2 separate regions of the Homo sapiens genome follow, and region 1 is linked to region 2. The links are contacts of gene promoters, found by promoter capture Hi-C in human tissues and cell types (Jung and others, 2019). All regions are on one chromosome and are shown on one strand. The core of a region is centred on a gene start or on the middle of the fragment in contact, and the rest is flanking DNA. Distances in the headings are between cores, read along the strand shown.

Region 1 (4,766 bases), core at 307-2,806, 35 kb after region 2:
CTGTTCCAAGAATCTGAAAGGGCTCTTTTGAATTGCAACGTGGACCTAGGATTTAAGGCCTTCATTGCAGTGTCAGTGGTGAGAAAAACTTGATATGGTCCCTTCCAATAGGGGTCAGGGGCAGTCTTACTCTGATGTTATTTCCAAAACACCCAATCTCCAAGTTCTAGACCACGAAGTATTTGATTGACCTCAGATGGTGGATCATGTAAAGCTTTTTTTACCTGGTGAAAATACACTTTGGCATAATGCTTAAAGCCTTGCAGCATTTAATCATATCAGAGTTTAAGAGAGCAAGGAATGTGTGAGCTTTTATTATTAGGGACATAGGTTTTCCAGTGACTGTTTCCTAAGAGCTCAACTTACGATTTCTAGTCAGAGTGAATCTGATTACCATTAAAGCCAACAGCAGTGTCTTAGGCCAAGAAAATGCAATTGACTTAGTTAGCATTGCCAATTTCAGTTCTAATATGCCATTTGTTCTTTCAACCTTTCCAGAAGACTGAGGATGATAGAAACAATGATAATGCCATTATGTTCACAATACATTCTTTAATTGCTTTATAAATTGCCCAGTAAAATGAGTTCCCCTACTGCTAGAGATTTCTCTAGGAATGCCCCTTAAGGAAACACATTTTCCAATAATTTCTTAGTTACTGTTACAGCACCAGCTTTCCTACATAGGAAAGCCTCTACCAACCAGGAAACACACAGACTATTACAAGAACATACTAATACCCCACTGAGAGTGGCAACTGAATAAAATCCATCTTTAAGTGTTCAAATAGCCCATCTTATGGTAGGAATATGCTACCTGAAGTTTTGATTGTTTTCCCAGGATTATAAGTTTGACAAACCAAAATATTGGTTATGAACCATTTTAGAAATGTTAGCACAGTAACCCCAACAATATTTTTTCATAACTTGTATCACTTTGTCTTTTCCATGTTGAGTTGTGAAGTGCATAGCTTTTAACAATAGAAGCTTCAAAGACTCAGGAAGGACCAGGTGGCCATCTGGGCCCTCTGTGAGTCCATGCTTAACAATGAATTTGGATCCTTTTTTAACAATGAATTTGTGTCCTTTCAGAGATCACTTTTGTTTCTCCAAATCAAGTGCATTATACTGTTTTCTAAATAGGTCATCATAAGGAAGTTGACTTGGATCGATCTTAGGAGGTTCATTCAGAAAGCATACCCTAACCGTTCCAGCACTAAACGATTGAGCATAAAAACCTACTAGAGAATTCTGTTTTATGTTCAGGTTCAGTTTTATATGCATGAGAGTCAATCTTAATAATGACAATCTGTGATGGTAACAGGATAGTGGAAAGGAGTTCATCCGCATGGAGTCTATTTTTGATGAAGTTCCCACTAGAAATGAGAAACCTTTGGTGTTTCTATAACATACCAAAATTGTGTGCTATGCCAAAGGTATATCAGCCATCTGCATAAATATTTACTGACTTGCCCTCAGCTATATGACAAGCTCAGGTGGGGGCAAAAAGCTCCATGTCCTGAGCTGACTTAAATTGAGGAAGAGCTCCCTTCTCTCTCAACTTATTTTGGGTGGCAATGGCATACCCTGCCCAATATTTTCCTTCTGAATTTTTGGCACAGGGCTCATTGACAAAAACTTATGATTATCCAATGGTGTATCTCATAAATCAACACAAGAGGCAACTATTTCTGATATTATCCTTACAAAATTATAGGCTTCACCATCATCAGACAGGAGTAATGGAATAGCAGAGTTAAGTATGTTGCAGAATTTTAAATAGAGATTAGAAGGAGATTAATTTAACAAGATGTTGGTCTACTTTCTGAAAAATACTGAGTTTGGTTGGCATGTAAAGGACTTCCCACAGTATGTGGGACTTGCAAATTAAGTTTATTCCCTAAAATCAGCTCAGATGAAGCTTCTATCAACTTGGCTGCAGCTGCTTTTAAACAATTAGCATGTACCTTCACTACTAGGTCTAATTGAGGGCTATAATATGCAATGGGCCTATGTTTTCCTCTACGTTCTTGGATAAGAGCTCCTAATTCCTGATTGTTACATTCATGGACAAACAAGGTAAAAGGTTTAGTGTAATTTGGAAGTCCCAAAGCTGGAGGCTGTCGTAAGGCAAAATTCATTTGGTTAAAAGCCTGCTCATGACTGTCTTCCCAAGGTAAAGGCTCTGGTACTGTGTTTCTATCAAGCTCTTACAATGGTGAGGCCATTCAGAAAAAATGCAAGACACAGAATTGGCAATATCCTGCAAGTCCAAGAAAACTTCTTAATTGTCTTCTGGTTACAAGCTGAGGAAAACTTTAAATAGTTTTATTCTTTCAGGCAAGAGGGAAATCCCTTTAGCCGTCAAGTCATAATGGACTTGCTCTTTTGAAAACTGAAGTTTTTTCATCGAAGCCTTGTGACCCTTATATGTGAGTTGCTGTAAAAGGTAAATTTAGTCCATTTTATAGCACTCTTAATGGGAGAGCCTAAGAACAGATCATCTATATACTAAGTAACAGCAGAATTTTGAAGAAACTATAGGGGTATTAAGTCCTGATGCAATATTGGGGAAAAATACAAAGGGCCTTCAGTAAACCCTTGTGACATTACAGTCAAGGTGTACTGCTGGTTTTTCTAAGTAAAAGCAAACAAGTATTGACTCTATTTATGGATTGAAGTGCTAAGGAAGGCTGAGCAGAGGTCTCTGACCTTCCTGTACCTGATGTTCCGCTAGGCCTTAAAAGGTTTCTATTATCATTTTTTTGAATAAGCTTTCTACTTCTTCCTTTTTCACAACTTTCTTGAATTCCAGTGACTCTTAGATTTGTTTTCATTTTGTTTTGTTTGAGGTTATTCTCTATATCTTGTAAGTATTCTTAATTCCTTTCATTATTTTTCTTTTTTCTCCTCTGTGTATTTTCAAATAGCCTGTCTTTGAGGTTACTGATTCTTCATTCTGCTTGATTCATTCTGTTTTTGAGAATCTCTAATGTATTTTACAGTTTAGCAAATGTATTTCTTGGTTCCAGGATTTCTGTTTGATTTTTTATTATTATTTTGATCTCTTTCTTAAATTTCTTTGATAAATTTCTGAATTGCTTTTCTGTGTTATCTTGGAGTTCCCTGAGTTTCCTTAGAATTGCTATTTTGAATTATTGATCTGAGAGCTCACACATCACCATCTCATTAGGAACAGTCACTGGCTCCTTGCTTTGTCTGTTTGGGAGGTCATTGTTCCTTGTTTGCTGTTGTTTCTTGTGGACATACAGCTATAGCGTCACATTGCAGGATTAGTTATTTTTTTCCAGTTTTCACTGTACAGTTTGTTTTGCTCTTAGAGGGTATATTTACTTAGGGTATGTTTATTAGAGTATGTTTACTTAGAGGTTCTTTGCAGTTTCCTATTGAGTCTCCTTAATCCTAGACCACTGCTTCCTTTATGGGACTACATGGCACCTTAAGCTTAGGTTTGCCTCAGCTCTCCCAAATGTTCAGAGCACTGCCTGTCCCATATGGGAAGGGGGTCCCAAATGGGATACACCTGTTCTATGTAAGAAGGTGGCTGGAGGTTGTGTCCAGAAGACCTATGGAAGGTGCCTCCTACAGCATGGTGCTGCAGAACAGCTACTCTGATTGGAAATCTCCTTTGGCTGAGATAAAGAGCAGAATTCACAGGCTGGGATTGCTAGACTCACCTCCCTATTTTGTCTCTAGCTGCTCTTTGGGATTTTTCTCCCTACAGGCACTTGCAATGCTTCCTATGGGTGGAGGCAGGAACAGTTTTCTTGTAAGCGTACCCAAGATGGTGCAGAAGCTGGCTGTCTGCCTCAATCTCACTTTTTCCAGAGTAGAAACCATAAGTCTGAGAAGAATTTTCCATGTGTAATCCCTGGCAGATTGGGAGAGGGGCGTCACGGAGAGAGACGTCACTTTCTCTTACTCTCTGCTCGGAGTTTTGCACTTCTTTGTGGCCCTGGGGATCATCTCAGCCTCATATTTGAGTTCTAGGATATTGCTGGTGATAATCTGGATGCTGGATATTTAGTTTTTTGATGGGAAGAGTGGAGCCAGAATGCTTCTACTCCATTACTTTTGTGACATTACTCCTCCTGAGTAGAGGTCTACTACAGTGAACCACTTCAAATAAGCAGGAACATTAGATAATAAAGTATTGGGATTTGCAATTACAGGAAACCTTGGTATTATAATTGTATTAATTAACTGTAAATCTTGAACAAATCTCCAGCCTCATTCATTTGGCTTTTTTTTTTTTTTTTAATGGAGTTTCACTCATGTTGCCCAGGCTGGAGTGGAATAGCATGATCTCAGCTCACTGCAACCTCCGCCTCCCAGGTTCAAGCAATTCTCCTGCCTCAGCCTCCCAAGTAGCTGGGATTACAGGCATGCACCACCATGCCTGGCTATCTTTTTGTATTTTTAGTAGAGACGGGGTTTCACTGTGGCCAGGCTGGTCTTGAACTCCTGACCTCAGGTGATCCACCTGCCTCAGCCTCCCAGAGTGCTGGGATTATAGGCATAAGCCACCACACCCGGCCTCATTTGGCTTTTTAACTGGTAAAATTGGAGCATTACAAGAACTGGTACACAGAATTATGTCTTTTTAAAAGTAAATCTTTTACAGTTGGTGATGGCCCCTGAATTGCTTCAAGTTTTAGTGGATATTACAGTAATTTAGGCAAAGGTTTAGAATGATCTACTTGAATTTGTATAGGTTCCGTACTTTTAATCCTTCCTATATCAGTTGA
Region 2 (4,885 bases), core at 1,203-3,702:
CCATAAAATATTTGGGACACACTTATACTAAAAAATCATTGGTGGTTTATCTGATATTCAAGTTTAACTGAACATCCTGTATTTTATCCGGCAACCCTAATAAGGGGATGGTGGTGAATCTTTGTTTCGTTGTGGTCTATGCAAAGCAGGCCTGGCTCTGCTACACAATGTGTTGCAGATATGGCATGTATGATGTGTGACTGGCTCTTAAAGAGGTATTTAGAGATAGTTTAACATAGATGTGTTTGTGTGAGAGTTGAGGAGACACACACACACACTCCCCACACACAAGAAATCTCTGTAGGAAGAAAAGACTGTCACACACATGGGTTGTGTGAGTATGTAATAGAGGAACGGTATGTGTATATAACTATATCCACTGTGTGTGGAGGTGTGTGACTCTTTCTCTGTATCAGAGTATATATGGGCATATGAGTGACTGTCTCCTGGAATACCCTTAACAAAAATTCGGTATACACTGTTATGTGTATTGAGTGTTGCCCAGGCCCAGGCATGGTGATAGGAAGTTCACCCCGCAGACCCCACCACTGTGCTCCCATTATCTCCAGTCCTCCCCCTCCCAACACACACACACATGTGCACACACAGACACACACACAGGCAGACAAAACATTCTGAAATGTAAGGGTAGATGAAGGAGAGGAAAACCATTGCCTTCCCCTTCCTGTCCCAGCCCCCTGCTCTCCATGCCTACTCTCCACGCCTCCATTCCCAGGGCTCAACCTACAGGTCTTTATGCCTCATAGGCGCTGCTGAGCTCTAATCGGGGCAGAAGCCTCCAGGGCCATCTCTGGGGCAGGCTCCTTTCTGCCCTGTCTCCTGCATGTGAGCATCCCCCTTTCAGGATAAGTGGCTTGTTTACATTTAATACATGCCATTATCATGCAGCCTGGGAAGTAAATTGACAGCGATCTGAGGCCCTTACCCTGTGCTTCATTTCCTCTGGGAAGTCCCACACTGTGGATTCACAAACTCTATTGGATTAATTGGTTAATTCTTCCCGCTGAAGCAATCAAACCTCCGTGGTTTCACTATGACGCCATCCCTAAACAAGTGTTTAATCTACTTTCTAACAAGCATTTCACTTCTCAAGATATTTTTCAACAAGGCCTTTAACTCATTGGGCTACTCTCGTTTCTGCTAAAAGGTGTAGTGCAAATCATAGACTTCTACCAGCACCCTTCACACCTTCCACCTCAGTCACCCCAGAGAAAGAGCAAATAAAGAGAATACGAGAGAAAGATGAGACTCAGGCTGCATCACTGGGTCTTTGTAAGTGGGTCCCCCGCCTGCCTGAGACTGGCATAGTTCCAGGTACCAGCAGCCCCAGAGCAAAAGTTCTCAGCCCAGCAGGGTTGGCTTTCTGTGTGCCAGTGGCATCTGAACTTCCTGTCCGTCTCACATCTGGGTACCCTCAAGATGGATGTGCGGGCATCAGCCAACAGCCAGGTCTTCCCCTCCCTACTGCATAGGTGGTACATTCTCCTCAGTTTCTCCTCCCTAAAGAAGGCTCAGGCTGGCCGGGAGCGATGGCTCACGCCTATAATCCCAGCACTTTGGGAGGCCGAGGCAGGTGGATCATGAGGTCAGGAGATCGAAACCATCCTGGCTAACACGGTGAAACCCTGTCTCTACTACAAATACAAAAAAAAAAAAAAAAAAAAAAATTAGCCAGGCGTGGTGGCGGGCGCCTATAGTCCCAGCTACTCGGGAGGCTGAGGCAGGTGAATGGCGTGAACCTGGGAGGCGGAGCTTGCAGTGAGCCGAGCTCACACCACTGCACTCCAGCCTGGGCGACAGAGCAAGACTCTGTCTCAGAAACGAAAAAAAAAAAAAAAAGGAGGCCGAGGCAGGCGGATCAGGAGGTCAGGAGATCGAGACCATCCTGGCTAACACGGTGAAACCCCGTCTCTACTAAAAATACAAAAAATTAGCCGGGCGTGGTGGTGGGCACCTGTAGTCCCAGCTACTCGGGAGGCTGAGGCAGGAGAATGGCGTGAACCCGAGAGGCAGAGCTTTCAGTGAGCCAAGATCGCGCCACTGCACTCCAGCCTGGGCGATAGAGCGAGACTCCGTCTCAAAAAAGAAAAAGAAGGCGGCTCAGGCTGGCCAGTGACGCTTGTGCCCCAGAAAGTTTGCCCCGCACATACCTCCTCCCTTCTCAGCGGTTTCCTGGGACTCTTCATTTTCCAAATGTTTCCTCTTTTGTCGTCGTTTCATGATATCAGCTAGAAGAGTTTCTAGAAGATGCTTAATGTCCACCTCCCACTTTTTCCTGTAGATTGGCCCTTCTTGGCTCTCAGGAAATTCATTAAAAAGATTCAGTACGAGTAAACGTAGTTGAATCTCCGAGATAGCTAAAGAACTCAGACCGCTTAGTGAAGGAGCAGCACTGCCCAGTGCCCACTACACTGCAGGGCTGTTAAGGTTCAAAGGTCACCAGGCCCATCGCAGATTCTCTGACATCAATGATGACATCACGGCGTTCTACGGACCTAGGTCCAACACAGTCTGTGCAACTGCAGAGACATCATTTTCAAAAACAATTCCTTTTTTCCAATAGAAGTCCTCTAATGAATTCAACTCTCCCGTATTTCAAATGTGGCAGAATATTTTGAGATGTTAACATGTTCTGTTTAATTTTTTTCTTTTCTTCTTTTTTTTTCACCCTTTCCCTTCTGGACTCAAGCAGGTAGCAGGCTTTGTGTTCATTGCTCAGAGGAGGGGTATGGCAGGGCTGAAAGCAGCAATAGCATGTTAATCATCTTGACTTTTCTTTCTTTTTTTTTTTTTTGTTGTTTTTATTTTGTTTTGTTTGTTCAGAGACAGGGTCTCTCTCTGTTGCCCAGGCTGGATTGCAGTGGTGTGATCATAGGGTCACTTCAGCCCCTAGGCTCAAGTGATCATCACACTTCAGCCTCCCGAGTAGCTGGGACAACAGGCACCAGACACGAGGCACCACACCCGGCTAATTTTTTTTTTTTTTTTTTTTTTTGAGAAACAGGGTCTCAGTATGTTGCCCAGGTTGGTCTTGAACTCCTAGCCTCAAGCTATCCTCCTGCCTCAGGCTCCCAAAGTGCTAGGATTGTAGGCATGAGCCACCACACCCCACCTGACTTTTATTTCTAAAATCTCAAACTCTGTAGGAAAGAGGAAAGTTAGCAGAAACATAACGGAAGCAGGATTTTTTTTAACTAGGCATGCCCCCTTCTTGCTCTACTATAGTGTTGAGAGGTACTGATTAGGTCAGAGAGAGAGAGGGATCTTCAAACTATGGAGGAGAGGAGCCCTCTAAAATGTGGCTGAAGAGGTACATGTGGCAAAAACTTCAAGAAGGGCTGCCTGTATTATGCGTACAGGCAGAATCATGGCGACCTATCTCACACATGGCATAGGAGCCACACCACCTAAAGACTCCCTGGCAGCTGAGCTGATGGGCATCTAAACTTCAGCTGTATGCTCCAATAACCAGAGACTATGCTCTCACCCCACCCTCAAAACCTCAGCCCTGTATGATTTCCAAATAGGGAGGGGTGGAAATCCAAAGAGGACATCAACAGAACCAAGGCTTAAATTACAAATTAAATGGAGTTACATAAGAAAATTGCATACTATTTCCTGCACATCTCTGCTCATGGGCTGAAATGTATACCAGTTATAAGTGGCAACCCATCTGGATCTTCCTGATTCCAATCTAAAATTAGAGACACCTTATTTGGGGCAGTGGCCCCAGTCCAGTGGGACTATTAGTTGACAAGTATGAGGGGGACTCCCAGAAATCACTGCATTAAAAAAGCAGTAGAAATACCCAGAGGACCAAGATGGGCCCAAATTTGAAAGGGCACTGCAGACTGTCCCCAGGCAGAAGGAGAATGAAGATAGGGCAAATGTAGCCTTGTAAAAATTTGCTGATGAGATTAAATCTCCAGTTTCTTAAAGAATCCCTAAAAAAGAGGGGCCAAAGAGCATTTTTTTGGGTGGTAGAAATTTTCAGACTAAAGTAGAGAGAATTGTATAATAGGAATGCAGTTTCATGTACACATAATCCAGTTTCAACAGTTATCAGTATTCTGCCATTCTTGTTCCAACCACCACACACACAGACTTTTAGTCTTTTGTTCATTTCTTTTTATTTAGGTGTTTGAGATAGAGGAGTGGGGGACTTGCTGTATTTTAAAGCAAATTCCAGACATTATGTCATTTCTCCTTGAATGCAGCAGTATGTACCTACAAAGATATGAACTTTTAAAAAGCATAACAGAAATATCATTATCTCACCAAATGAATTTAATCATAATTCTTTTATATAATTTCATAACCAAGCCATACTCAATTTCCTCCAAATATGCTAAAATATCTTTGTATAACTGTATTGTTGAGATCAAGATCCAAACAAAGTCCACACATTGTGATTGGTTGATACATCTTTTAGTCTATAACAGTTCTCCCTCCCTTTTTAAGGCATTCACCTGTTGGAAAAAACTGAGTAATTTATCTTCTAGAATTTTCCACAGTTTGGAAATGGTTAATTGTATTCTTGTGATGTTATCTAGATGTTCCCCTATGAGCTGAATTGCCTTGTAAACAGGTAGTTAGGTCTAGATAATTGATTAGTTTTAGATTCAGTGACATGGGAAGCTTGCAGAGTTTTGCAGGAGAAATTACATTTGAAAAGATCACTCTGGTAACTGTGTTGAGAATAGACTTTTAGAAGGCAAAGGCTGAATCAGAGAGAACAGTGGGCCTATTGCAATAATCCAGGAGAGAGATGAGACTGGTTTGGATCACAATGTTAGATGTGAAAATAATGGATAGTGGTCATCTTCTGGATGTATTTTGTAGGAAGAGACAACAGAATTTGCTG

What was found. Contacts are between HindIII fragments. The study calls those that stand out against the background at their distance.
Region 1: a contact is called between a fragment that was not itself captured here and the fragment with the promoter of FAM170A in region 2, in 2 of the 25 tissues and cell types used here (hippocampus and psoas muscle).

What each region holds. Positions count from the first base shown.
Region 1 is chr5:119,591,196-119,595,961 of GRCh38, reverse strand. No RefSeq gene overlaps it. Among named protein-coding and RNA genes, the nearest start is that of FAM170A, 36 kb to the left of the region's middle. The HindIII fragment of the contact is 3,122 bases long and covers 1-3,117 here.
Region 2 is chr5:119,627,125-119,632,009 of GRCh38, reverse strand. It overlaps FAM170A (family with sequence similarity 170 member A), which reads right to left and starts at 2,452. Exons shown (of 5, transcript NM_001367956.1): 1 at 2,172-2,452. The coding sequence starts at 2,241. The HindIII fragment of the contact is 14,754 bases long and covers 1-4,885 here.